Linked DNA regions of Homo sapiens: regions 1, 2, 4, 5 and 6 are each linked to region 3. The links are contacts of gene promoters, found by promoter capture Hi-C in blood cells and fetal thymus (Javierre and others, 2016). All regions are on one chromosome and are shown on one strand. The core of a region is centred on a gene start or on the middle of the fragment in contact, and the rest is flanking DNA. Distances in the headings are between cores, read along the strand shown. Region 1 overlaps LOC124904518 (a long non-coding RNA gene). Region 2 has its middle 100 kb from the start of LINC01705. Region 3 holds the start of DUSP10 (dual specificity phosphatase 10). Region 4 has its middle 37 kb from the start of LINC02257. Region 5 overlaps LINC01705 (long intergenic non-protein coding RNA 1705). Region 6 holds the start of LOC124904518 (a long non-coding RNA gene).

Evidence for each region. The method cuts DNA at HindIII sites, captures the fragments that hold promoters and counts their contacts. A CHiCAGO score of 5 or more calls a contact.
Region 1: a fragment that was not itself captured here is called in contact with the fragment with the promoter of DUSP10 in region 3 in 2 of 17 cell types (erythroblasts and M0 macrophages); the score reaches 5.2 in erythroblasts.
Region 2: a contact is called between a fragment that was not itself captured here and the fragment with the promoter of DUSP10 in region 3, in 4 of 17 cell types (megakaryocytes, M0 macrophages, M2 macrophages and 1 more). The highest score is 7.4, in megakaryocytes.
Region 4: a fragment that was not itself captured here is called in contact with the fragment with the promoter of DUSP10 in region 3 in 1 of 17 cell types (M2 macrophages); the score reaches 6.0 in M2 macrophages.
Region 5: a fragment that was not itself captured here is called in contact with the fragment with the promoter of DUSP10 in region 3 in 1 of 17 cell types (megakaryocytes); the score reaches 5.1 in megakaryocytes.
Region 6: a fragment that was not itself captured here is called in contact with the fragment with the promoter of DUSP10 in region 3 in 1 of 17 cell types (megakaryocytes); the score reaches 5.4 in megakaryocytes.

Annotation. Positions count from the first base shown.
Region 1 is chr1:222,096,767-222,101,737 of GRCh38, forward strand. The region is part of intron 1 of LOC124904518 (a long non-coding RNA gene); the gene reads right to left. Among named protein-coding and RNA genes, the nearest start is that of LINC01705, 40 kb to the left of the region's middle. RefSeq lists a silencer at 2,008-2,208. The HindIII fragment of the contact is 2,581 bases long and covers 661-3,241 here.
Region 2 is chr1:222,160,840-222,165,376 of GRCh38, forward strand. No RefSeq gene overlaps it. Among named protein-coding and RNA genes, the nearest start is that of LINC01705, 100 kb to the left of the region's middle. The HindIII fragment of the contact is 3,203 bases long and covers 1,536-4,537 here.
Region 3 is chr1:221,739,711-221,744,314 of GRCh38, forward strand. DUSP10 (dual specificity phosphatase 10) reads right to left here and starts at 2,379. Exons shown (of 4, transcript NM_007207.6): 1 at 2,271-2,379; 2 at 1-77. The coding sequence starts at 34. RefSeq lists enhancers at 1,449-2,086, 2,087-2,724, 2,196-2,385, 2,716-2,915, 2,725-3,362 and 1 more and silencers at 1,366-1,415, 3,136-3,615. The HindIII fragment of the contact is 7,400 bases long and covers 1-4,604 here.
Region 4 is chr1:222,013,460-222,017,900 of GRCh38, forward strand. No RefSeq gene overlaps it. Among named protein-coding and RNA genes, the nearest start is that of LINC02257, 37 kb to the left of the region's middle. The HindIII fragment of the contact is 3,129 bases long and covers 281-3,409 here.
Region 5 is chr1:222,053,820-222,058,757 of GRCh38, forward strand. It overlaps LINC01705 (long intergenic non-protein coding RNA 1705), which reads right to left. Exons shown (of 3, transcript XR_001738485.2): 2 at 4,595-4,859. Among named protein-coding and RNA genes, the nearest start is that of LINC01705, 3.1 kb to the right of the region's middle. The HindIII fragment of the contact is 9,452 bases long and covers 1-4,938 here.
Region 6 is chr1:222,120,505-222,125,443 of GRCh38, forward strand. LOC124904518 (a long non-coding RNA gene) reads right to left here and starts at 378. Exons shown (of 2, transcript XR_007066886.1): 1 at 289-378. The HindIII fragment of the contact is 7,998 bases long and covers 1-4,939 here.

The sequences.
Region 1 (4,971 bases), core at 701-3,200, 360 kb after region 3:
CTACTAAATGTACTTGTGATTCTCCCCTCTCTCTCTCCCCTCAACTTTCATTCATTTGCTGAATTCTGAGGATTCTCCCTCTGCAAGAGTTCTCACCTCTGTCTCTGCATTACCACTGCCTACTGCCACAGTTGAGGCATTGGGCGTTTCTCGTGTGAACCGTCACAGTGAAATGCTAACTGACCACATCACGATGAGCCTTTCTCCCTCAACTCAGCTGCCATACTCACCTGCTAGACTTGTCTTTCTAAGCCCAGTATGAGGCTGTATGTCACTCTTTGTATTTTCCACTGCTGACAACAATATCTGCACAAGATTACCAGCAGACTGCCTACATCTGAATCATCCAGGAGGCTGGCTTACAATGCAGATTTCTAAGCTCCACTTCAAGCCAGCTGAATCAAATCAGTAGGTCCCAGAAATCTACATGTTCAGCCAAGTCCCTTTATAAGCCTTCAGCCCACTACAGCAGGAGAGCCACTGGCATAGAGCTTCCTCTGTAGGGCATTTAAAGCCTTTCACTATCTGGCCCCTGCTTACCTTTTAATCTGATTTTCGCCAGTCCCTTCACCCATGCCCTCATTCTCCATACTTACCCTGTGCCTTTGGGTGTTTCTCTCCCTGAAATGCCCTCTGCCTTTTGCTGCCAGATCTTACTAAAGCTTAGCCCTAAATTCACATACTCTGTGGCATCGTCTGTGATGCCTCTGGTTATATCCAATTCCTACCTCTTCAGGACCTCTGTTACCCTCAATAAAACAGGATTTGTTCAGCTGGTGAGTAACTCCACGAGAACACAGGTTTTGATCAATAAGAGTTTTATTACTTGGTGCAAGTAAGGAGGATACTGGGAGTGTTCTCCAAAGCAGTGTCTCCCGGAGAGAAGGGGACAGGAGGGTTTTATGCGGCAATGGAGAAGGGTGCATCATGGCAGGTAGAGGAGGGGTCCCAGTTGCACAGACATGATGAGTCATCATGCCAGCATATGGGTTGCATGTCATGGTAATGCAGGTATAGCTCCTCCCAGGGTGGAGACTTTGGCATAGTAATGAGGAAAGTTCACTCGAGTTCATCTAGAAGTTGCCAGGATCAGTCAGGACCTGGTTTAAACCAACAAGGTGACTGCATTCCACACAGGCTGCAGGGCAGGAGGCTGTAAAACAGACTGACCAGACTGACTGCTCAACTTGATTCGATTCCTATCATCCCTGGAGACTCTCCCTGTCTGTTTATACTCTTATATACTTTATAACAGTGTATCTCTGTGCATTATAGTAACTGTTTTAGTACCCCTTTCCTTTTTGGCCAAATACCTCTTAAGGGCAAGAACCAAGTTTTACTTATCCTTTTACCCCAGTGTCTGACACATAGTCAGTGCTCAATAAAATGATGTTTGAATGAATGACTGCATAAATACTGTCTTCCACCACTGCAATTCAAACATCAGACTCCATGGATAGCAGCATTTAGAAAAACACTTATATCTAACCATAATGATTCTGACAGGTTCCTGATAACTCTGGAAGTGTTATGCATTCCATCAGACTGAGAGGACCCAAATTTCATTTCTGAAATTCAGAGGACATCACAAGGAGACAGTTCCATTTAAATTTATCTTTCCAATTAAGGGCATAGACACAGATTCAGTTAGTTTGTACCGAAAGAGCCATTCATAGAATAGCCAACAGCTAAGGCCTAATTCTCAGACTAATGAGTAACTAAAGATATTTTTGAAAAAGCTGAATGTCGACAATATGACAGGGACACCAGAAAAACAAGGCTGTGGATGGCACTTGCCATCTGTCATCTGTCCAACAGTTGATGGCATTATTTGAATAACCCCTGAGTTTGTGGATTAGTCTTGTGGACCAGAGATAGGAGTGGAGGGGTTAGGAAGAAGGAAGTCACAAGGTCCCCTCTTTTCAAGAGTTTACAGTTCAGTTAGAACCACCTAAATGCTGCATGTGGCAAAAACCCAGGAATAAAAACAAAGAAGTATGGTAGAGACTGCACATTGACCTAATGTAGAAACAAAGCCCACAGCTGCTAGGGAAAGAAAGAGATTCGAGATTTATTTGTAATGAGAATTTTGGCACTGGAAGAGCCTACAGAGACCATGTAATACAGCAGTCTCACTTCACAAATGAGAACTAAATGCCGAGTGAAGTGACTTTTCCAAAGCCATTCGAATTGTTTATTTAACCAGGAAACCTTTCAGATAGAAATAAGATATGCCTGGAAAAAGAGAAGGTAAGTTTTTCAGAGAGCTATGTTGGAGGAGGGAAAAACTATGTGAGGAGAAAAAGAGAAAGAGGTTTCTGCAGAAGGAGAAGAGGCAAATGAGCAAGTTTGGGAGATGAAAGCAAGAATTTCTAGTGCAGTGCAAAGAAGAGTGATGAGGAGTGAGACTGGGGTGTCACGTTGGAGGTGGGAACCAACCTTTATGAATGGAAAGTCTTAGCTAGAAGAAGGAGGAGGGTTGCTATGAACCCAACTGAGTTCCAGCCCTATATAATGAATTCCTGTGCTGTTAGAATCCAACCTCACTCAATCACAAATTTTTGAAGCTGGAAAGACCTTGAAGGAAAACTAAGGAACTCATCTTAGAGATGAATAAGCCCAGGTTCAGAAGGAGGCAGGGCAAGTGTGTGGTCTTTGGAAACATGCTGATTCTAGTTTTAACACTCATCAGCCATATGTCTTTGAGCCACTTATTGAAGCTCTTTGAGCCTCTGTTGCCTTTCCTGTAAGAAGGAGATATATTCAATTCATAGTGTTGTTATAAGGGTTAGACTATCATGCATCATTAGCACCTGGCCTAGTGTGAGCCCATAAATGGAATTCAGTGAATGCTTCTTCTGCCTCCCTTTGTGCTAAGAGATGAGTTGCCTTGCCCAGGTCATCAGCTTATGCATAGCAAAGACAAGGCAGAAACTTTAATGTTTAAACCTGAAAATCCAAGCTACAGCCCTAAAACAGGCTGCCCCTCTTGCAAACTCTACCTAGGCTCCCACCAAAGTACTTAGGATCCTTTTGAAAAGGGGCAGTTCCGGAATTGCCATAAGAGACCAGGAATTCACAATCAGAACTTCATTTGCTTTCCTTCCTGAAGTTTGTCTTTAGTGAGCTCACAGCCTTGACGAATGAAGAAACAAACCCATCTCAAACAAACAAAAAACAAAGAGGGCAGATCAAAGACAAGTCCTCTATGAAAGTATGTCAGCTGGGGATAGAGGATAAAAGCTTTTTTGTTGCTGAATGAAAAAGCTCTTTTGGCTTCATGATTTCCTAGGGATTATAATAATAATGGCCTGGATTATCAATACAATTCACATCTGAATGTGCTTCACATTTCTCAAAACCTGAAGATTGGAAACTAAATTGTTGAAAGCCAATCAGTCCTGGCCAGGTAGAGGTGCAAGGTAGACACAGAGACTCTTGAGCTGTAGGAGGTTTTATCAATATGACAGATACCCTTTGAGGGATGAGCTATTGGCATGTGGGCATTGAAGTCCTGGACAGAATGTAAATATTAAGACTTTAAAATAATAAATACAATATTCCCCAAACGAATCTTTTTATCTTCTACCTCAAACACAACTAGTGCTCTTATCAATGACCTGGGACAGTGCTTTTTTTTTTTTTTTTTTTTTTTTTTGCTTGTCTTTAGTAATGTACTGCAACTCTGCTCAAGTTTGTTAAGCATTTCTCAGGTTCCAAAGAATTTTCTGACACTAGCATTACAAAAGTGACTAAGACGTGGTCCCTATTTTCCAAAATTTGTTTAAATCCCAGCTCAAATCATGTCACTCCTCTGATCTAAACCCTGCATTGTTGCTCCATCTCACTCAGACGAAAGCCAACATCCTTGCAGTGGCCACCGGCTCCCACCTGATCTCCTTGGCCCTTCCTCACTGACCTCATCACATACTACTCTCTCTGTTGCTGATACTGAATATGCCAGGATCCTCCTGCCTTTGTTAATGAATGCATTTTTCTTTCAGGAAAAGAGATGAGCTCTATGAGGAAATGCAAAAAGCAATTATAATTTCAATTGTGGAAAAAGAAAACTCAGAAGTCAACTTAAGAACTTGCCAGTCAGACTGCTTTTTGAGGGAGCTGTCCGATGAGCTGGTGTTGCTATTTGAGGTGAACCACCCAGCTAGCTGGGTGGCTTGACTACCTAGAGGGAAAACTTGACCATTCATACAGCAGAGAAAGACGTGACTAAAGAACACTGTCCCCACTATACACTTCCACCCTGCATGACATCAGTGAATCTTTGACTTCCTTTAGGTTAGCAAAGCATGGAAACGAATTTCAGGCCAAATGACGATACATTCATGATCGCTGGACAATTTTATTATCTGGATCCTGGGGCAGTGCATGCAGTGTTTGTCCTGGAGCAACCTCCTTAAGGGGCCACCTCTGCTTGAGCAACACGCTGGAAGCTTCATAGATAGGTAACATTCTCTAGCTTGCTACCCAGCCCCCTTGGTGTCATGTTTCTCTTCTCCCCCATCCTCCTGTGTAGTGCATGTGCTCTCCAGACTCTCCCCAAGGCTCTGTCCCTGTCCCACCTTCCCTCTCTGAGAACTTCCCACCTCCGCTCCACTCCTTCAGGTGAGGATTTTTTTTTCTCTCTGACTCAACACATATGCAGATAACTTACTGGTCAGACCCTTCTTTGTTGTATTCGGTCTCTAAGATCCTGGGCCTATTTGTTACTCATATTGTCTAGATCTTGGGAGCAGAGCCATGTCCAAAGATCATGGAATTCTTTGCACACAGAGTGGACACCTGACCTGCCATCAGGGTGTAGGCTTTCCTGATGCCCCTCCCACCCGAGCCAGGTGTGAGTGGAAGGGATGAATCTCAGAGGGTTGAATAAGTTATGAGCCTTAGTTCATGATATATCATCATCTTTGATTTGGGTTAATCTTTGATTTAATTAGCTATCACTTTTATTCC
Region 2 (4,537 bases), core at 1,887-4,386, 420 kb after region 3:
TTTGTGACAATAAGATACAAAATTTCAGTATGATTCTGGTATAGCATCACATGACAGATAGCAGGCTGTGAAGGAAATCAAAATTTTTTACCCCAAAACATATTTCTTTGACGTATTTTGAAATGGTCCTGCAAAGCCACCTCTTGTGGGGAAAATTTGCATCTGTAGAGCATCTCTCCCCATTTATAGGTCTTTCTGGATCCAGGAGAGATCAAACTAACAGTCTGACACCTTTTAAGATACAAAAAGAGACACTTATCATCTATCTATCTGAAACCTGCTACTTAGAGGCTTCATCTATATAGCAAGAACCTCAGCTTCCACAACCCCCCTTATCTTAACTCAAGCATTTCTTTCTACTGTCTCCAACTCTTTAGGCAAAGCTTAACTATTTCAATCAATTGCCAATCAGAAAATCTTTGAATCTATATATGATCTGTAAGGCCTCACTTGGAGATGTCCCATCTTTGTAGGCTGAACAAATGTATATCTTGCATGTATTGATTTATTAATATGTCTTTGCCTGTAATTTCTATCTTCCTAAAATGTATAAAATCAAGTTGTAACCTGACCACTTTGGGCACACTTTCCAGGACATTTTGAGACCATATTCCAGGGCATGGTTACTTATATTGGCTCAGAATAAACCTCTTTAAATATTTTAGACAATTTGATGTTTTTCATCAACAAATGCTTGATAACTAGTTTAGACTCTTACCTTATCTGCCCAGCTCATACTATGATAAAAGCCTTAGGAAAGAAGACAAAGTTTATCCTAAACCTTTATTCTCTATTCCCCTAAAGCACCTACCTCAAGTCTGGACACATAGCGAGTTCCTAATAAACATTATTAATTATTGCTCTCAACATCACTGTGTGAAACATATATAGGCACAGAAGGCTGGATTTTGTGATTACCCATAAAGAGTGCTTAGTTGTTACGTAAAATGAATAATGTGAACATGCTGAAACATAAGAGGATCAAATTATGCCCTAACCACTGCCTGTTCGCAAGTGAAAACCAGCGAAAATGGGGATGACTCATCTTAAATCCACCATCAAATGAACAGTGTTTCTCCATTTTCAAAGCACCACTTGGGAATTAGAGTCAAGATAGATGAACATATTCAGACTCTATATGAACATAACTGGAGGACAGGGGCTACCAAAATTGAAGCTAGTAAACTGTATCTGGAACACTCTTGCTGTTTCTGGTGGTGTGGATAACATGTGCTATTAGCACAGGGGTCAGTTTCCACTGTAACCAGGACCTGCCCAGAAAACTTAATCTCATCAGAGTTCAGGCCTAGTCTAAGACACACTGTCCTAACACACAGTGCCCCTGTCTCCTTACAAGGACAATCTTTGAAAATGCTCCACAAATTAATAATAATAACAACTTCTACTCTCCATTGAGTACCTCACTATGTGACTGTCTACGCTTCTATGCATTTAGGTACATTTCCTCATATAAGCTTGTCAGCAGCCCTCTGATGTGGATATCAGGAGATCCAGTTTGTAGATTGAGAAACTGAAGCTTAGAGAAGACAAGCAGTTTACCCAGTTTGCCCCTTAGCATCCTGCTTCCAAATCCATGCAACCAACCATTAATCTTCCTCTGCTCTCTGCCCACTTGGACACCAGAGTCCAGGCAGCCAGTGTAGAAAAGGCCTAAACTTTATCTCCCTGCCTTTCCTTCATCTTTATCTTTCCTGAGGATCCATATAGGAAACAGCGAGCTAGAGAGTTAAGCCTGGGCTTAGATGCCCCAGCAGGGAGCAGTTAGGGTGAGCAGTTATTTCTGATCTTTTCTGTGTTCTCTGCAGGTAAAGGCCTAGCATCTCATGATTTAGTGTGGTGGTTCTCAAAGTATGGTCCTGGCACAAGCAACATCACCATCACCTGGGAGCTTGTTAAAAATGCAGAATCTTGGGCCATAACCCAGATATACTGAATCTGAAATTCTGGGGACAGAGCCCATTAATCTGCATTTTTAAAGCCCTCCAGGTGATTCTGTTGCACACTAAAGTTGGAGAACCCCTGTTCTTCACTAACTATTGTTTAGTGGAATAACAAAAAAAAAAAAAAAAAAAAAGGAGAAAGAAATTAGCACTGAAGCCAGTAGAATGCAGAAGGTTGGGATTTTCAAAACCAGTCTTGTAGCTGTCATATTTAGAATCACAATATCCTATCTAGGCACAGTAGCTCATATCTATAATCTCAGCATATTAGAGGGCTGAGGCAGGAGGATTGCTTGAGGCCAAGAGTTCAAGACCAGCCTGGGCAGCATAGTGAGACCTAGTCTCTAAAAACAAAAATAAAGATAATTAGCTGGGCGTGGTGGCATGTGCCTGTAGTACCAACTACACAGGAGGCTGAAGTGGCAGGATAGCTTAAGCCCAGGAGTTTGAAGCTAGACAGTGAGCTATGATCATGCCAGTGTATTCCAGCCTGGGCGACAGAGCAAGACCCTGTCTCTAAAATGAATAAATAAATAAAATCACAATATTCTAACACTTAAAAGATAAAAAATAAATTCGAGGCTTTCTAACATAAAGTGTTCATTTCACACTAGAGAAAACTGAGGCCCAGAGAAGCAAAACATGTTGTCCCTTGTCACACAGCAAGATTGTGGCAGAGCTTTACAGCAGAACCCAGGCCTCCCCTTTCCAGTTCTAAGTTATCTTCTGCAATCCAACTTGCCTTCCAATGTCCAAATACACCCTCAATAATTCTGGCTGCTCCCATATCTGTGCTTATAACTGTCTGATAGTCTATGCATGGGGAAAAAAAAAAAAACTTTCTCCTTTTCTGAACATAAATATAAGTAGCAATTTCTTTTCTTACATTTCTACTCTGCATCAATATCATACAGTCCCAATTTTTAAAGCAATCTATCAAACATTTTATTCAAATTAGTATACAAATTTTGGTTCTTCTTTCAACTCATGGTGGGGCTAGGATTTAAATTGTTATATGATTTTTTTATGCATTTACATAATTTTTTCCTGACGAACTCAGAATTTTGTTTCTTTATCTCTCTGGAAGATAATCATCTCAGATTACTCTAATCATGATGTGCCCAGCAACACTGTTTGATTCTCTTTGCTGAGCTGTGGGAAGTCACCTCTCTAAAACTGTTCACCCTCAGAGCAAAATCCACTCTTTCCTACTCTCATGTAGCAAACCAGATGCCCAAAAATCCAGACAAAGTGAGTTATTTGTGTCCCAGTTAAAATGGCTTATATCCAAAAGACAGGCAATAACAAATGTTGGCAAGGATGTGGAGAAAAGGGAACCCTTGTACCTTGCTGGTAGGAATGTAAATTAGTACAACCACCACGGAGAACACTTTGGAGGGTCCTCAAAGAACTAAAAATAGCTGGGCACAGTGGCTCACGCCTGTAATCTCAGCACTTTGAGAGGCTGAGGCAGATGGATCACCAGAGGTCAGAAGTTCGAGACCAGCCTGGCCAACATGGTGAAACTCCGTCTCTACTAAAAATACAAAAAAAATTAGCTGGGCATGGTAGCAGGCACCTGTAATCCCAGCTACTCGGAAGGCTGAGGCCAGGGAATCACTTGAACCCGGGAAGCAGAGGTTGCAGTGAGCTGAGGTCACGCCACTTCACTTCAGCCTGGGCAACAAGAGCAAAACTCTGCCTCAAAAGAGAAAAACAAAACAAAACTAAAACTAAAAATAAAGCTACCATATGGTCCAGGTATACCATATATACCACTGCTGGATATATATCCAAAAGAAAGAAAATCAGCATATCAAGGAGATATCTGCACCTCTGTATTTGTTGCAGTGCTGTTTACAATATCCAAGATTTAGAAGCAACTTAAGTGTCCATCAACATTCAAATGGATAAAGAAAATGTGATACATATACACAATGGAGTATTATTCAGCCATAAAAAAGAATGAGATCCTGTCATTTGCAACCACATGGACAGAACTGGATATCATTATGTTAAGTGAAATAAGCGAGGCACAGAAAAACAAACATTGCATGTTCTCACTTATTTGTAGGATATAAAAATCAAAACAGTTGAACTCATGGACATAGAGAATAGAAGGACAGTCATCAGAAGCTAGGAAGGGTAGTGGGGTGCTTGGAGGAAGAGGGTGATGGCTAATGGGTACAAGAAAATAGGATCAAATTTACCTAGTATTTGATAGCACAACAGGGTAACTATAGTTAATAATAACTTAATTGTGTACTTTAAAATAATGAAAAGGGTAGAATTAGATTGTTTATAATATAAAGGATAAACGCTTGAGGGGATGGATACCCTGTGTTCCATGATGTGATTAATATGCATTACATGCTTGTATCAAAATTTCTCATGTGCCCCACAAATACATATATAGCCACTTAGGTACCCCCCAAAATTAAAAATATTTTTAAGTGAGTGATTTGTGAAAAGAACTCAGTAATCGGCATTCAAGGTGGTGGATAGTTTTCAGAATTGTAATATTTCCATCCAAATGTTTGGAATCTTATAGGTGGGTTATTGGCTGAGTTGTTTTT
Region 3 (4,604 bases), core at 1,129-3,628:
CTACTACCCTGTCGTCTAAAGGAGACGGAGGCATGAGGAGGCTGAAAACTGGCAATTCAAGAAGAACTCAAGACAGTCTGTAAAGAAGGGGAAGGGGGAAAGAAAGAATAAAGTCACGTGACACAAAAGGCAGTCTCATCCAATCCCTGGGAAAGACCTTTGCATCCCTCTGAGCAAAGTCGTCCTAATTGCCCTTTATCATACCATTATCAAAACTTGAAATTCATTTTTATGTATTCAAAGAGGATGCAAACCTGAGGGCTCCAATCAATTTGGTTGCTAAGTCTAAGGTTAAATTTGGATGTAATGTTGTAAATGTTAATGAACAACCTTTCCTGGACCTACATAAAAGTTCAGCTGTAGAGAAGGTATAAGCACAAATAATTAGAAAAGCTGAAGACAGAAGGGAGGCTCTTAAGAGGCATCTATTCTGAACCTCAGCTCTCGGGCAGAAGTACACTGCAAACATCTGAGAAAGACCCATTTGTCCACCCTTGCATGCTTGCCATTTAATTCCCTCACTCGCTGCAAAGGCAAAGGGGTAACCAAGAGCACTGGCATGGTTCACAGAAAGGTACAGCAGCTAAATATACATCAGGGTGGATGTCAACTTTCTGCAAATCCCCTTAAGTGAATCTCTTTAACTTGGAGCTATTCTTGCCTTCCATTCTCTATTGGGGTCCTTTGAAAAGCACAACATAGTCATACTAAAACCTCACATGTTGTCTTTTGGCCTCTTATAAATTAATCTGCATTTCCCCTTTTCACTACTAACTGGTGTCCTAAAACGAAATCTCAAGCCATGGAGCCAGATCTGGAAACCTGGAAACCCCAGCCCCGGCAAATCCCTCACCCTTTGCTCTCTCACCTGCCCCCGCCCTCATTCCTGCCTGGAAAGGACAACTTGGGCTCTCCTCCCCTCTTCATCTCCCTGGCTGGCACAGACTGTGCATCCTAGAGCTTCTCTCAATGGGAGGCAGCCACGTTGTATAAGGTTTCAATCCCATACAGATATCCCCCCTTCAAGAGTACTGATTCCGTAAAGAGGACCTCCCAATTAGCCTGTACTCGTTGAAAGGGACAGTGAATTGTTGCCCACCGGATCTATCTCTGATTTCAGAGTGTCTGCAAAAAGACAGCTCCTTCCTCCTGTAGGCACAGGGGCACTCTACAACTCAGGCTTGCTAACTCTTCTTCTTCTATTAGACATGCACATAGCAAAGACGCCAAACCCCACGCCAAGAGACGCTCACCTAAACGAACTTTAAGAGCTATCAGGAAAAATGCCATCTATCATCCGTCTACACACGACCGTCACCATTCTCATCCGTCTACACACGACCGTCACCATTCTCTGACACAGAACCAAAGTGTCACAGGCGGAATCCACACTCACGCGCGCACACGGGGCACGCACCCATCACGTCGGCAGATCTCCAACGACTCGGGTTTCTCTCACCCACCTTTGGATGGGAGCGAAGGAGTCAACCCCCCTTCCCTTGCGTAGTATTTTTTCTGAAGAGCGAGTTCTATTCCAGAAGCTATAACTGTTTCCCGGTTGGACCAAGCGGTGAAAGTCTTTGCTATTGTGTTACCTGGTAGGACACGTCCAGGATCAACATACCATTTCTTCTGAGAGGGACGCATAAGCGTGTTCACAGAGACACGCGCTGGGACCCCCACCTCCACACAGAGTTCAAGGCTCACACACACACACACGGAGTGTATAGAGAGACCTGCATCCCTGCAGCAGAGGGTCGGGCGTACATACTGCCCGTGAAACCATCCAGTCTGGCCCAGAAAATCTCCCAGAGAAATACTGAGCTATCCCCTCTCCCTTCCACCACTAGGCAAGAGCTGGAGAGAAAATTAAGTGGTTAGAGAATGCTTCTTCCCCATTCCTGGAGCACTTAACATCCCCCCGCCCCCCGCTTCACTCCTCGGCACACAGCGCACTAATGAGCCCCGAGCATTTAAAACTGCCGCAAAGCATCCCAACAAACCTCATTTTTTCTTCGCCCCAAATCCAAGTAGACTGCAGGGAGTAAACGCACAGGGTAGCAGGAGCCAACGGCCGGAACCTTATAACCCTACCTGCTGTAGCTCCTCCGTCAGCATCGCATCTCTATCTTTCTGTCTCTGTCTCTCTCTCACACACACACAGATACACACACACAAACACACACACTCACACTCACACAAGCACCGCCTTACAATCCTCCACCTCCAGTCCCGGGCTCTCAGGAGTAGTCGCGGTGACTTCCACTTACTTCATAAATAAGTGTATTCCTCCACCATCTGGCGCTCCTCTTCAGCTATGGACTCGCACATTCAGCCCCCATTCACTCGGCTTCATTGATCTCCAGCAGCAACATAGTTACTTTCTCTTTTGCTACACTGTAAATGTAAGGTTCTGAGGGGGCGGACTCGCCGCCGACCGACGGCGGGTTGGGCCAATAAGAATCCGGAGAAAGCCGACCGCTACCTCACAGAGCCCCGCGACCAATGGGCAGCCTAGGGGGCGGGTAAGAAGGCGTGGCCTCATCTCTTTAAGGAGGGTTTATCCGAAGCTGCTCTGGGTCCTCGGTGTTAAAACACGGGCGGTGATGTCATTGGCAACCAATCAAAAACTTAAAAGAGCCAGCCGGGGCCGCGCGGAGCAGCTGCTCTCTATTTACATGTAAACCGAACCGGCAGGATGCAGTTAACCCTTTACCAGGCTGAAGTGTCAGCGGGCTGGACGCGCTGCTCCGCTAAAACTGGCTCTTCCCACTGGACGGGATCCTCCAACACTCCCTCACCCGGGGACAAACCACGCTATTTTTCCTCCTTACTATGGACAGATGATCAAAAGTATCGGAGTAACTTTCTAAAGGAAAGAGACTGCGATCACCGTCCCTAGTGGGAAAGCCGGGTTCTCTCCGAGTCGCTCGAGGTGACTTGACAAACGCTAAGCCAAAATTCGCGGACCTCGCCGGGTCTTCTGCGCTAGGACCAGCATGAGCGCGCAGCCAGGGGCGACGCTTCCGCTCCGAGCCGCGGCCCGGGGCCACGCGCTAAGGGCCCGAACTTGGCAGCTGACCGTCCCGGACAGGGAGGCCCTTCAGCCTCGACGCGGCCTGCGTCCTCCGGAGGGCCCTGCTCCGCCCGGGAAGCGTCCGCCTCCCGCCCGCCCGCCCGCAGATGTCGCTGCCCCTCTGGCTGTCCCGGCCTGACCGCCGCGCGCCGCCCTGCTGCTCACCTACTTCCGCGCCACGGTCACGCCCCTGCCGTCCCCAGGCTAACCCTCCCGGGGCTCGACCCAGAGCACTAAGGCGGCGCCACTGAGGGCTGCTCGGAGGAGGAGGCTTGAGTCGACGCCAGAGGCGGCAAGGGACGCGCCCTGAGCAGCGGTGCAGAGGCCAATCCCCTGGCCGGGCGTCCTGGGGCCCGCTACGCGCCCGCTGCCCCTCCGGGTCTGGGTCCCCGCCCGCCGCCGCCCCCCTTTCCCGCCTGGCGCGCTGGGTCCCCGCGCCGTGCCAGCAGCGCGCAACCCACCCGCCCCACATGCCTCGGCCGCCACCCCTCGGTCCCGCACGGCCCCTGCCGAGGCCAGGACCGGCAGCCCGGCGCTTCTGGAACAGCCGCAGCTGGCGGAAAAGAGCCAGAGCCGAGTGCAAATAGCTAGATTGAATGGGGCCGGAGGAGCGTGGAGGAGGTGACGCCGCCTCTCCCCGCTCCCCTGACTTTGGCCGGCGCCAGGTAGCTGGCCGCAGCTCCTGATCAGGGAGAAGAGTAGGGGGCGGGGCAAGCCGCCCCTTGCCTAGTCCGGAAAATATTCTCATTAGGGAAACTGCAGGAAAGTTGCCCTGGGATACAAAAAGAAGTGGAGATGAACAACCCCAGATGAACTGTGGAGAGTCTACGTCCAAGAACCCTAAAGAAGTAGAGCTTTTTCTTTTCTTATCTGTGAGAGAAGGGATAAAAAGTGAAATAATGGAATAATACATTATGAGCACTAGGGAATGTTGGGCTATCGTTTTTCTCCCTTACCTGATTGGATGGGGTTTGGAGGTCTACTTCAGACTCCAAGCCTAGTAGTATACTGAGTAGCAGGGGCATATTCATGTAATTGTTTTCAGGGCAGATCTGAAATCAGGAGGTGTCAGACCATAGCTAGCAAGTCAGCTATGCTCAATGAGCTGTGAAGAGAAATCCCCTTGGGCACCTCCACTTACATGCAGGCACATACCCCCCAGTCCAGCTTTTCACACCAGTGTTACGACGGGCATCACGTACACATCCGATAGTCTTACATAGGAGAGGATTTTGTGTAACGTCTGTTGTCGAAAATAGTCAAACTCTGTAAAATATTTGAAGAGATTTATTCTGAGCCAAATATGAGTGACCATGGCCTGTGACACAGCCCTCAGGAGGTCCTGAGCACGTGCCCAAGGTGGTTGGGGTCCAGCTTGGTTTTATACATTTTAGGGAGGCATGAGACATCAATCAAATACATTTAAGAAATACATTGGTTTGGTCCAAAAAGGCTGGACAACTCTAAGGAGCGGGTGGGCTTTCAGGCTATAGGTAAATTTAAACATTTTCTGGTTGACAATTGGTTG
Region 4 (4,441 bases), core at 595-3,094, 270 kb after region 3:
GAAGGTTGTGGTGTTTGGAGTTGTGTGGTTGTAGAAAATTTTGTGAATGGAAGAGGCTCTTTTAAAAAGCTTGTTGTCTAGATAGCCTTGCTCTTTCAAGTATGGTCATGGAGATTGTGAATCATGTAGACAGAAGTCTCAGGTGGCGTCACAGACCTATGGAATCAGAATCAGTGCTTTTTAAGGTGACCCCTGGATGATTCCCCTGTGTATTTAAGTTTGGTAAGCACTGCTCTGCAGAACTCAAGACAAAAATATTTGCATTCTGGATAAACAAGAAAGCTTTACACAGAAGCTAGTCCTATCCACTGTTTTCCCCTCATCCGGTTACACTACAAATCTCACCCTAGACTCAGACTGCAGAAGAAAGTTGCTAGATGCCAAATGTTCACCTCCTTGTAGCTAATTTCCATGTGCACAGGAACTTGAGCTATCTCACCAGGCCATCAGAACCAGCAGGTCCAGTGTTCAGGTAAGGGTTCCTAGCAGAGGTTTGCAAATAAAATCATTCACACAGACTAATCCTGGTTGGAGGGAAATGCACAAAGTCTAAGGAAAATCAAGGTGTAGAAAGGGGGTGCCCAATTTACACATATTTAGCCCTGTTAGCTTTCCCGGGCTTACTCAGCTTTCTTTCTCTTCATTGAGTGTCATCTCTTCATGATCAGGATGACAACTTACAAATATATGCACGAAGAGCCAGTGCTTCAATACTGAACAGGAGAAAACGACAATACTGCTGTTCCAAAACCGAAATACTCCATTTGGAACTGAATTGCTTTCAGAGTCATATGCTCACAACCAAAAAAGGAAACACTCTTAACACTCAAATATTTGAAAAAAAAAAAAACCACCATAATTACTAGCTCATGAGAAAAAAATACAAATTTCATATAGTTCTCAGTAGACCTGGAGACTTCCTTTCTTATACAATGTTCCATGACTGCCACAAAGCCTGTGAGATACTTGGGGTATTATCACCCTCTCCATTTTACAGGTAAAGAGAAAGGCCCTGTGCTGCTCACCTTTGTGACAAGCCTTCCATTGTGACAGCTATCAAGGGGCAGAACTATAACTACAGCCAGGCTCCATGATTCCAACACAACGTTGTTTTCTCCTCTACACATGGTTTGACTATAGGAAATTGTCACTTTGCACTTTGAAAGACTGCTGAAGGCTAATCATATGACACTATGCCATGTGATAAAATTGCATAGTGGTTTGGAAACTACAGTCAATATAGCCCCATCACTATGTTACTGCCCAAAAGATGCGTCCATCCATTTTCTTTTGTTTTATTTTTGTGATAAGAACACTTAAAATGAGATCTACCCTCTTAACAAATTGTATACAATATACTGTGATTAATCATTGGTACAATGTTATAAAGCAGATCTATAGAGCTTATTTATCTCGCTTGACTGAAACTTCATGCCTGTCAATTAGTAACTCCCATTTTCCCTCCCCCCAGCCCCTGGCAACCACTATTTTACTTTTTGATTCTATGAATTTGACTATTTTAGACACCTCTTATAAGTGGAATCATGCACTATTCATTTTTCTGTGACTGGCTTATTTCACTTAACATCATGTCCTCAAGGTTCATCTGTGTTGTGGCATATTACAGAGTTTCCTTCTTTTTTAAGGCTGAATATATATGCCATTTTATGTATGTACAACATTGTATTTATCCATTCACCTATCAACGGACATTTAGGTTGTTTCCACATCTTAGGTATTGTGACTAGACTGGTGTTGCAATGAACATGAGTGCTAATATCTTTCTAAGATCCTGACTTTAATTCCTTTGGGTAAATACCCAGAAATGGGATTGCTGGATCATAGATCCTATGGTAATTCTTTTTTTTTTTTTTAAACAGATAGAGTGTTTCTGTGTTGCTCACACTGGTCTTGACCTATTGGCCTCAAGCAATCCTCCCACTTCAGCCTCCCAAAGCGCTGAGATTACAGGTATGAGCCACCACGCTCGGCTGTATTTTTAGTTTTTAAGGGCACCTCCATGCCATCTTCCAAAGTGGCTGCACCTGCTGAGACACTATGACTCTCGCCAGTGAAAAAAACAACAAAAAATTCAGCAAAGTGGCTGTAACATTTTGCGTTTCCACCAACAGTATACAAGGTTCTAGTTTCTCCACATCTTCTTGCTTCCTGTTTAAGCTGGAACTTCCTCAGGTCTTCAGGGTTAGGTTTAACTATCCTGTTTTTATTTTTTATTCAGTTTTGGAACTGTGGCTCACGGTATTCTGTGTATCACATCAAACTCTATGGACTGAACCCCCTCTAATCCTATTTTACTTGTGATTCTTCCCAGAAGAACCTACTTTGTTGCAGAAAAAACTGAAGCTAATGTTCATGGCCTTGCCAGAGCTGTCTGCAAAATGCACCAGCCAAATGGAATTATGCAAAGTTTATGGAAGAGGCCCAATTAAATTCAAAAAGCTGGTATTGTGTTCTCAATTGTGCCAACATGGTGCTAGGCACTGGGGATACCAAACTAAGTAAGAATACAGCTTAAACAAATAATGACATAATGTAAGTAACGTGGTATAATAGACATGAAGTATATGGATATCGGGGGGAAAGGTATGAATGGTGATCCTGAAAAGTTAGATTGGAGGGTAGGCAAACAGTTGAGCTAAGCCTTGAAAAGTTAGTAGGCAAGTGTACCAGGCCAACACGAGGACGTATTCTATAATCTGTACCATGGCTGGTAAATATGGGTACACTTGGCACCATTCCCATTACTGCACCCAGGGCAGACATTGCTAAATGAATGTAATGTTCAACCAATACATGGTCTCAGAATCTTTATTAATGGTGTTTCAAAGAGCACTACTAGTGCATCCTAAATGGTGTGCAAGGTCTTTGCCATCTGCCCTTGATTTAGAGCACCTTCTTCAAGTTTCCTTGTTTTGAACAAGCTAATCATAGTGACATGATTCAATAGTATTCCAAGACAGCTTCAGTGAGCCAAAGTTTGAAAGAATTTGTCTCCTTTTTTAATGTTTCCTTCCAGGTGGAGGGAATGCAACTCATGTGAAACATCTGGTCCTCTCTGCCAGTGTTATTTATTCTTCTCTGGTAGAGTGAGACTAAACTATCTGATTGTTAAATTTGCAAAGAATAACTTGTATGTACATAGCTCATCTCCCCATATTTTCCTTCTGGGAAGAGGAGGTCTCAGTATCTCCATTCTGTATGTCTTTTCTGAGTAAGTGTTTGTCTTGGTGCAGCCTGCCCCACCCAGCCTGAATGCCATTCAGTGGGGCTCTTTGGTTTTTACTCAAAAATATATCCTTGGGGAAAATGAGACAGACAAAGTTATATTTCAGAAGATTGTGTGTAATAAAGAAATAAAAGAAATGTCACTGGGGGAAGAAGAAGGCAAAGCTTCTTTCTGCATTTGTGTCATGTACTTTCAAGCCAAAAAGGGATCATTAAGTTTGTTTACTCCAAAGAATCATGGGTAGTTCTAGAGGTAAGTCTGAAAGAACCGAGAATCTCAAGGAAGAGCTGATCAATCCAGAGCTTTGGGGTTTGGCAGAAGGAATGGGGTTACTACACTTCAAAAGGTCAGTTACTGCCAAGGCCAAGTATGTCCTTCTTGGCTAGGGTCATGTGGCTAACATTTTCCACTGTGGTAATGCCACAATATGTACACAATTTCCCCTGGCTTTATACCCTGGAGTTGAGAGTGTGCAGATTGCTTTCATAATGGCCCCCAATATATCATGTCCCGTTGTGTCCATACGTCTTTGCATTGTGATTTTTGTCACTCCTCCCATCAAGAGATGAAAATGATTTTCTGACCCTTTGAATGTGGGTTGACCCTATGACTTGCTTTGACCAATAGAAAGTGGCAGATGTGATATTGTATGACATTTGAGGATAAGACATATGAGGCCTTGAAGCTTCCATTTTCTCCCTCTTGGAATTCCCATCACTATGTAAGGAAGCCTGAGAGAGACTACCACATGATGAAAACCATGTAGAGAGAGTCAAGCTGCCAACCAGTACCTAAGCTCCAAACATTCGAATGAGGCCATCTTAACTTCTTCAGGCCCAATTAAACTGCCAGATGATTACAGTCACACAGACAACCTCAGACAACAGCAGAAGAACCACCCAGCTAACCCCAGCAACTCAAAGAATCAGGAGAAATAATAAACCATTGTCTTAAGCCATTATATTTTGTGGAGTTTTGTTATAATGCAAAGGCTATTTGGTATAAAGAGGGTATTTCTCTGCAGATATAAACTTTCCCCAGAACCTAACCCACATTGAACATGAAAGTCCTGTATCTTTAACTTCTTAAAAGTGCCAGTCTTCCGTGTGTGTGTGTGTGTGTGTGTGTGTGTGTGTGTGTGTTTTGTTGTTGTTGTTGTTGTTGCTGTTGTTGTTTTTAAGGGCAATACCTTTT
Region 5 (4,938 bases), core at 1,476-3,975, 310 kb after region 3:
TTTAAACTCACATGAATATCTGTAGACAGTTACAAACACATATATAGATATTACACCTTACAGTCTATAGTGTTTCAATGTTTTAAAATTTTAAACAAATAAAAATTCCAAGTGGTCACAAAGAATGGCAACTTATGCAAACATAGTTCTATTTCTTCTCTCTGTCCATTGCGCAATTATTATTTATTTTGAAACTACTGTTTAAGTGCAGGAAAATGTAGTTCTGCAGTACCTGGAGACAGGAGCTGCACTAGGAGCACGCGAAGGATTCTAAACAATTACAAACTCATTGACAAGCAAACATGTTCAGGGAAATATTCATGTGTGACGGGGTGGCTGCCTAACTGTGAGCTTTTCAAATAAACCTCTATGTAAATTACAACGTTTTTTAAAGGATAATTAATAAGCCATGCTATGTTTAAGTTTATATATTATGAAAACTCAGCAGCAGCCACATAAATTGTTGAGAACTCAGACCAGCAAAATATTTTTTGGTAGGGTATTTTGTCACTGAGTGGTCAAAAGTAACAGGCAGACTTTCAGTAAGTTTTAGGAGAGTTTTGAATTTCCTACCGACAATGCATCCCCCTTCTTGCCTGAATCTAGGGGAGAAGGCTGCCAGTGCTCAGCAGCTGCTATGCCACCAGTTCTAAGTAAGGTGTCCTCAGCATTGCCCTGGGCTACGAAAAGTCGGAAAACCTCCATCTAGCCCAGTCCTCTTGCCCACATGAGGAACCTGAGGTCAGGCGGCTTGTGTGACTCCCAGGGTGAGATGCATTCATGGAAGGAAACCAGAGCAAGGGCCTCCAGGCCTCTGTGCGTGCCGGGGAGGCACGTGATCACATGACTTGGAACACAGCAGGTTCTGTTCATGCAGGCAGGGCACCCTCAGCATGTCCCCAGGGCCCAGGCAATAATAGAGGGAGGCTGAGCCTGAGGCTATGGAGAGGTGGACAACACAGGTCCAGGCTAGACAGAGCCACCACTCAGCTTTGACCCATAGTTGCTATGCAGGAAAGCAGGCAAGTGATGCCAAGTTTTCTGCTTTTTCTAGACAAACCAAAGAATCCATCTCCTTCTTTGGCACAAAATCTCCAAAGTTTTATATTTTGGCAAATAATTCAAATTACTTGAACAGAAGCAAGAAGGAAGGAAGGGAAAGAGGGAGGCAGGGAGTAGGGGGAGAGAGAAAGAAAACCCTTAGGCCCACCGCCTCGGCATGCTGGGTGTGGTCAGGCACTGCAGCCTCACCACCTCTGTGCTGATAATTAGCTACCAGACAAACACAGGTTTAGTCCGCAGCTCCTACATCAACAGGTAGTGAGGTCTCCTTAGGTAGTGGAAAGTTGTGTTAAAGGCAAATAAATCTCAGGCCCCAAAATCACTCAAGCCCAACTGCTTAGGGCAAATCTGCCTCCCGTTCTATTCAAAGTCGCCCCTCTGCTCACTGAGATAAATGCATATCTGATTGCTTCATTTGGATAGGCTCATCAGAAGCTCAAAAGAATGCAACCATTTCTCTCTTACCTACCTGTGACCTGGGCGCCCTTGCACCACTTGGAGTTGTCCTGCCTTTGCCTCAAGTTGTCCTACCTTTTTGGACTGAACCAATGTACCTCTTACACATATTGACTGGTGTCTCGTGTTTCCCTACAGTGTATAAAACTGAGCTGTGCCCCGACCACCTTGGGCACATGTCATCAGAACCTCCTGAGGCTGTGTCACAGGCGTGTATGTCCTTAACTTTGGCAAAATAAACTTGCTAAATTAACTAAGACCTGTCTAGATTTTCAGGTTCACAGTTGGAGACTCTATACCCCTTTATTGCACTAGTTTGAGCTCCTTCAGGCCAACACTAGACATTTGGCTCCATGTTAAGGGAAGGACACAGACCCCTTCACGTCCGAGGAAAGGCGGGTGCTGAGCCTTGCCGCTCTCATCATCCAAGGACTTGCACTCTGCTTCAGTGTCTCGCTCCTGCTGTCTCTGCCATCAGTGGCAGACACAGCTAACACTGCGACAGAGCCAGGGACCTAACAGGCTTACTTCAAGGGGCTAACCTGGGCTGCCAAGAACAATTTCTCCCTGTAACCTGTCAGGAGCGGACAAGGCTGCTGGAAGCTCATGTAACTTTTCACCACATGCCGTTTTGAAATAACTCTATTCCATGGGGAAAACCTTCAGAAGACTTTTCTTTGTAAACAGACTTGATGATAAAGACATGCTAAGTCCTAAAACCCAGAGGCTGTCAAGGATTTTACATTCTACCAATTTTGTCTTATCTCCTGGGCACTGTGGAGTTGAACAGAAGCTAGAGCTAAGTGCTAAACTCACTAGACATCTGCCAGCATCCGTCCATCACAAATGCGAGGGCCTCCCTGCCAAGTGGGCCACTCTCTCTGGTATAGGGAAAGATTCAAAGTTGTTATGAATGTTACCTGCAGATATTAAAAAGAAATGAGTTACACGTGTTTGTGTTTTCTGTTCTTACCTTCTCAGAAGTGAAATGCAGGAGCACACATATTGATCATGTAAATTTTTAAAAAATGATAATTCACACACACATTTGTACACAGAAGTCCAGGCAAAGAAAGATCAACATGTTTAGAACACTTACCTTCAGGCAGTGGAGTAAGAGATAATATATTTTTTTTTGCATAGTTGTATTTTATAAAAGTTCTATGATTGATATTTATTACTTTAGTCATAAGGGGGAAAGCAACCAATAAAGACTATGAAAGAATGAGAATATATGGTATATTAGTCTGCTAGGTCTGCCATAACTAAATACCACAGAGTGGCTTAAAAGAGCAGACATTTTTCTCTCACAGTCCTGAGAGCCATAAGTTTGAAATTAAGGTATTGGCAAAGTCGTTCGTTCTAGATCCTCTGAGAGAAAATCTATTCTGTGCATCCCTCCTAACTTGTGGTGGCTGCAGGCAAGCCTTGGTGTTTCTTGGCCGATAGATGCATCCTTCCAGTCTCTGCCTCACTCCTTACAGGGCATTCTGTGTCTCTCTGTGTCTTTATATGGTTTTCTTATAAGGCCCACCCCAATCCAGTATGACCTCGTCTGAATTTCACTAACTTACATCTGCAGAGACCCTACTTCCAAATCAGGTCATATTCTGAGGTTCTGGGTGGACATAATTTTGGGGATGGGGAAACACTATTCAATCCAGTACATATGCTTATAAAGTAGATGAATCCCCCCTGGGGATATTCAGATGCCCATTGACCCTATTAAGCCTTAATTCCTGAAAGTAGAGCTTCAGCTCCCAGGAGCATGTGGCCTACCTCCTCCTCAATCTCTGCTCTGGATGAGGAGTGGGGCCAGTGCAGAAGCAAGGGGTATAGACCAACAACATGACCCACAAGGACCACATCTGGTCCTGGTAAAGCCATGGGCCCCAGAGCCCTGGTGGGGCCCTGGGTGATGCTGAGAAGCCTGAGGATCACACACCTCCCTCACATAGTATTACGCCTTTGCAAGTGCGTGGGCATGTTCTTAGGATTAACCAATTACAAACTCAGTTTGAAGTGTGACAGTCATTCATTTTCTCCCTGAGTGGTACTGAAAGTAAAACTCCTGTCATGTGCGAGTCTGAGAAACATGTGATGACAAAAAGATTTCTTGTACTCAACAAGGTTGGAAATCACCATGCTACATCTTTTTCTGGAGCAGACTTCTTGTGGGATGAGAGGCTTTTATTGGGATGTAGTGTGTCTTGTGTCTTGTGTCTTATGTGACAGGCACCATGTACAGCACTTTGGGTCCATGTTTCTCGTAATCTTCAAATCAAACCCATGAGGCAATCATCCCATTTTTTAGATGAGGAAACAGGCTCAGAGAGGTTAGAGAATCACAGAGAGCCCCCAAATCACAAAGGTAGGAGCCAGCAGAGATGAGATTTGAATTTGAAGGTAAATATTTCTAAGACTTACACGATAGTGTTATTGGCTGAAGTGTGTCATTAACACTCTCTTTAGCACTGGATAAGCCATCAGAGACCTACACCCTGACACCATGTTGCTGTGCTCCCGACAGAATTTATTGTCATTCAGGAACACATCAGGGCTGTGGCCTCCAAGAGGGACTCTTTAATTGCCTTAGTAAACCCACTTCTTTTTTATGTGCAGATGCCACAGGGAACACCTTCCACTAAGTCTCTCTATGCCCAGTGCATGAAGCCCAGGGGAGACCTTCTGTAGGAGCCAAGTAATAGGAAGAGCTTGGCTTCCTCTAAATAATTGGTGTATTTTCTCCCTAGAGGCAAAAGGAATGGGGTAATCATTTACCCAGGTCTGTATTTTCTGTCCTCAAATCTGTCGGCTCAATCATAGTACTCTGGTTTAATTACCTTATAATCTGAATTTCTGCAATAAGATCCCCAGCCTGTACCCCAGGACCTGACCTACTTTTTCAATATTTAATTTTTTTGCCTTAATTTGTTTTAATTGATAACTTATTATTGTCTTGTATATTTTTTCTGATATCCTCCAGAAATCTTTTTTGTTTGATTTTTTACTCTCGTTGTTTTTATGTTAGTGTGGTTCTTACGCAGTAGGGGAAAAGGACTGTGGAGTCACTGACCTTTGCCATCTGCTCCTGCCAGCTCCTCTTGCCAGGGCCCCTCCAGCAGGCCAAGTCCCATATCCACCTGCTGGCTGCCCAGAGCTGCACACAGAGGACAAGAGCCCTCTGGCTCATTCATTGTTCACTCTACTCTTCCATCTTGAAGATTCTTAGGCTTAGGTCCTCAGGACACCAACTCCAAATGAGTTAATTAAAAAGACAAAGAATATAATTGTCAACAGAGTTCATGAGTTATCCAGCTTCAGGTAGTGTGTATTTCAACCTAAAAAACAAACAAACAAAAAAGAAAACTGCTAGTTTCAACAAAGGCTCCAGATTCCTCTGAAAATACACCTAACTTA
Region 6 (4,939 bases), core at 707-3,206, 380 kb after region 3:
GCTGGGGACTTTGGGAGATGATTAGATCATGGGACCCTGCCCTCATGACCTCATGGTTGTGATTAGTGCCCTTATAAAAGAGACCACAGAGGGCCTGGTGGCGGGCGGCTGTAGTCCCAGCTAGTCGGGAGGCTGAGGCAGGAGAATGGTGTGAACCCGGGAGGCGGAGCTTGCAGTGAGCCAAGATCGCACCACTGCACTCCAGCCTGGGCGACAGAGTGAGACTCCATCTCAAAAAAAAAAAAAAAAAAAAGAGACCACAGAAAGCTAGCTGCCATGTGTGGTTACCTTGAGAAGAGGTCCATCTGCAAAGGAAACAGGCCCTCATCGGACACCAAATCTGCCAGCACCTTGACCTTGGACTTCCCAGACTCAAAACTGTAGGAAATAAATTTCATTTGCTTTATAAGCTATCCAATCTATGATACTTTGTTCCTATATGTTATGTTTAATGTATCTGCCTTAGTCTTAATGTATCTGCCTTAGTCTAAACAGTCTGTATTTAAGGCATAATATATAGTAACATTAGAGTAAACATAGTAACATAAAACGCATAACAACAACAACAAAAACAGCTGGCCAAATGAATGCCAGAGAGTTGCCTTGATAGTGAAGAAACTGGAGAGGAAAGGCCAGGCTGGCCAGGGCAACCTCTATCCAGGAGTCAAATACCTAAGCCTGGGCCACATGTCCTGCTTCTTTCACCCTGGTTTTGGAAGTTAGTTTCAACCTCATCAACAACAACATTAACAGATTCTAAATCCTAAAGTATGCCAAACAATAAATCTTTTGTCTCATCTCGGTTAGTTCTTGCTTTGTGATTTTTTAAAAATTTTTAAAAATGTTTTAAAAATTCGGGCTATTCATCCTTTCTAAATGACCTGTTTACAAGTCTGTAGGTGGGATGGCTTCCATTCAGAAAATTTAATGTGTTATTATGCTATATGTTTGAAGGAGTTATCAATGGAAATGTTAGTTATGTATCAACCAAAGACACCACAGAAAGGAATAAAACACCTGCAGATATTTGTTAGTGCTGAGTAAACATTTGGTAGGATGGATATTTTGAGATCTGGACCCTAGGCCCAGTTTCACCACAGGCAGTAGTAAGCAGAGTAATAAGCAGAGAAAAAAAGAGTCTCCTACTCAAGATGAGCCCTACAGTCAATAATTCCAAAGTACATGAAGAAAATGAATATTAAGAAAAATAATTCACTCATCAATTGGAAAACAAAATCATGCCCAATTAAATAAAAAATAAAGCAATATCAAAATAATTTTAAAATAAACATTTGAAGAGGGAGATATGAATCAAGAACAAATGGGTATAAAATAGAACCAATTTTTAAATCCAGAAATTGCGAAAATGTAGTAATTAGAATTAAAGTGCAAGAGATGGTATAAACTCTAGGCTGGATACAGTCAGAAAGAGATGTAGTGAATTTGAAGATACAACTAAGGAATTTGTCCTGTATATCAAACACAGAGATAAAAGTATAAAAATGTGAAGGAAAGGGGGAACTTAATAAGCCTTGATACTAGAATGAGAGTTTTCAAAATACACCTGATGTGAATTCCAGATGGAGAGAATATGAGGAGTGGTGAGAAGCAATATTCAAAAAGACACAGGCTGAGAATTTTCCGTAACTGAAGAAAGGCAGGGGCTGGCTGATGGAAAGAACACAGTAAGCCTTTCAAAGTGCTGAGAAGAAATAACTGTGAGCCCTGAATACAACAGCCAGCTTCAAGTATTTAAGATTTAAAAGATGAAAATTAAAGACCTTGGCTTAATATTTACAAAAATATTTATCTCCGATATAATTTATTATATACTCACTTGCTAAGTAATAAAAGCATAAAAATTGTGAACTGAATATACCACAAATTCATTACAGTAGTTGATCTGGAAGGGAGAAAAACTGGACTAAGGAGAACATAGGCAACTTCGGTATTATAGATAATACTTTATTTTTAGGAAATTAAAGCATATACTGTACGACCAAATGTTACCAGGGTACATGGATTTTTACATTACTTTGAATTTTTAATTCTTTTTTTTAATAGAAAAACATTTTAAAGGAAAACACTACAGATCTGGAATAGTTTTGAGGAAAGCAGGAGAATTCATAACAAGTTCTTCCAGGACAAGGGCCTTGTCTTACCTTTGATTCCTCTGCATTTGGCAAAGTGTTTATCACACAGGAGATGCTCAAAGATTGTCTAGTAAGTGAATAAAAACCTACCTAAACACCTAATTACATGGGAAAGCCAATTAAAGCTAAAGACGAGCTTGTTCTTGGACCTATTTCTAATTCAATCATTTATTCATTCTCTCAACATGCCTCCCCAATAAATAGACTAGGTGCTGAGGTCACATAAATAAATAAGACATGGCCCCTGCTCTTACTGAACCCGTGTATAGGTAAGTCCTATTAAGTAACCTAATAGGACATACAAGGAGAGAGTGACCATAATAATTGGGTACTAAAGAGTCCAGCTCACCAGCTACATAGTTTAGTTTCCTTCTAGGAAGGTCTTTTCAAGCATTTTCCTTTTTTCTCTCAAAATTAGAATCCTATAGGATGCCAACGACTAGTAAAACTGCAAGAAATGCAAGCAGGAAAGGACATGGAAGGAGGAGATAGCCAAACCAATCAAGTTTCTCCCCTCTGAGAGTCCCATTGCTTCCCCAAAATACTGAAAGGAAACTGCAGGCAAAGAAAAAATATATTCCATTTCTTGGTCTAAAAAGTGTCATTCTGGCACCCACTGCCTTCTGGAGATAAGCTCTGCGCTGGCAAGGGACAGAATTATGCCAGGAAATTGAGGATGTGCGGGTATTTTCCCAAGCTGTATTAACACTTCTCATGCTTTGCAGAGATTAGAACTTTTATCACTGGCTCACACACATTAAAGAAATTGTATTAAGCTGTAATTTTTTAGGGCAGAATGGACCAAAATTGTTCCCTTTCTAAGGATGCTGTGAGATGACATGGCTGAATATTGACAAGGAATCCAAACCCTAAGTCAAAGCTCTCCCACTTTAAAGTGGATGCACCTTTCTCATAATGGCAAGACTCTTGAAGGAGTGGAATGGAAGAAAGACGTCACCATTTCCTTTTGATGACAGGCCTCTGGACAGAAGAGAAGCAGGGGTCACCAAGATAATGCCAACTGAAAAAGGTAGTTGCGGAAGTTAGGACAAGAGCATGCAGCTATGAGAGGTAAGAACAGGGTTAAGAGCTGTGCACAGTGGCATGTGCCTGTAGTACCACCTACTCAGGAGGCTGATGTGAGAGGATCCCTCGAACCCAGAAGTTTGAGTCCAGCATGGGCAACATAGCAAGACTCTGTCTCTTAAAAAAAAAAAGAGAGAGAGAGAGAGAGGGAAAGAGAGAAGGGGTTCAAATATCTGAGCTGGCAAGCCGTGGGGAAGGGTGGGAGTCAGAGAGAATAACAGACAAAATGTACAAAAGGCCAGACAGATGGGAGTAGGGGCAGGCACAGACCAAGAGGCTATGATGTGAGAACACCATGATTTTGATGTGGCCATTTATTGAAGGCTTGCCATTGACTACATTTCTTTCCAGTGCTTTAAATCCATGATCTCATTTATTCCTCATCATTACAGGAAGCAGCTATTATAATTCTATATTCTACAGGTAAGGAACATCCACATCACAGAAGTCAAATAGCTAGTGTGGAAGTCAGTCCCTCTAACTCCGCAGCCCATGCCATGATGTGACCCAGGCCTCCATGCTGTCCCACCCCACCCCCACCTGACAGGGAGCATCCACAATCTTGCCCAAGCAGAGGACGGTCCAGGGGCAATCAGCCTGAATCTTTGGGTTGAGACTGACAACACAACAAAGCCTTCCAGGGCAAGGACAATGTGTTGGTGTTTTCTATTTCCCCAGCACCCAGTCTGGTGGAAGGTCAGTACCCAGCTGTCATTGTAGGTGCACCCATAGAACCCTTGCTGGCAGGAGGACAGGTAAGAAAGTCTAGGCCATGGGGCTGCTGTTGGTCCAGGCTGTGGTAGAGAGCTGCCACTGCCAGTTACCCAGTCTACCCGATGGCTGGCTGCCTGACTGAACTCCTACAAATCAGAGATGTTATTTAGTGCTAAAACAAATAAAGCAGGCTTTAACTACCCGTGAAGAACAATTAGGCATTCCCAGAAGAGCACCAAGGTTTGTAATCCAACTAGAAAGTGGGGCTACCATCTGTCTTTATGATTAGCCCTTTTCCAAGCAGGAGAGAAAAGAGTCATTGCAGGGGTTGGCTCAATCCACAAGGAGGAGCTCCAACTAAATGTGGGATGGTGCAGGAGAGATACAAAGGGCAAGGTATGCCTCTGACCTCTAAAGTTCAGTCTATCAAGAGTGAGAAGGACATTAACAACCCAAGGGACCATATCAATGCCAACCAAGTTTGTATAGTTATGAGCCAGTCCAGAGCAGTAAGAGATCACTGGATCCAAGGGAAGTCAAGATCATCTCCCAAGAGAAAATGAGATTTGCAATGGGCTGTTTAGGATAAATAGGACTTTGGTGAGTAGACAGGAGGGAAGGGGTAGTCTAGATATGAGAAGCAATGGAGCCAAGGCACCCGCAGAGGGGAGCTGCAGGAGAGGAGTCTGGAAAGTTGGAAGAGTGGCTGCAGCCCAAACCTGGCCACCTTGAATGTCAGTCTGTGAAATTAGGACAGAGGTGTGTGCTAGCTATGGCCAAACTAGGCCCCAAACAAGTCCAAACACTGTCACCATCTGCATTTCTGCAGATGTTTCTGTTCTTCCACTGATAATTTGGCAATATTTCCAGGAAAAGGTAGGTGGCTTCAGAGAACTATTGGAGTCCCTAGTCCTCCAGGGATGAAAGAACCATAACCCTATAGTCAAAGGCAATCCAGTCCCTTTCCTAAGGGTTCTATGGGAGAC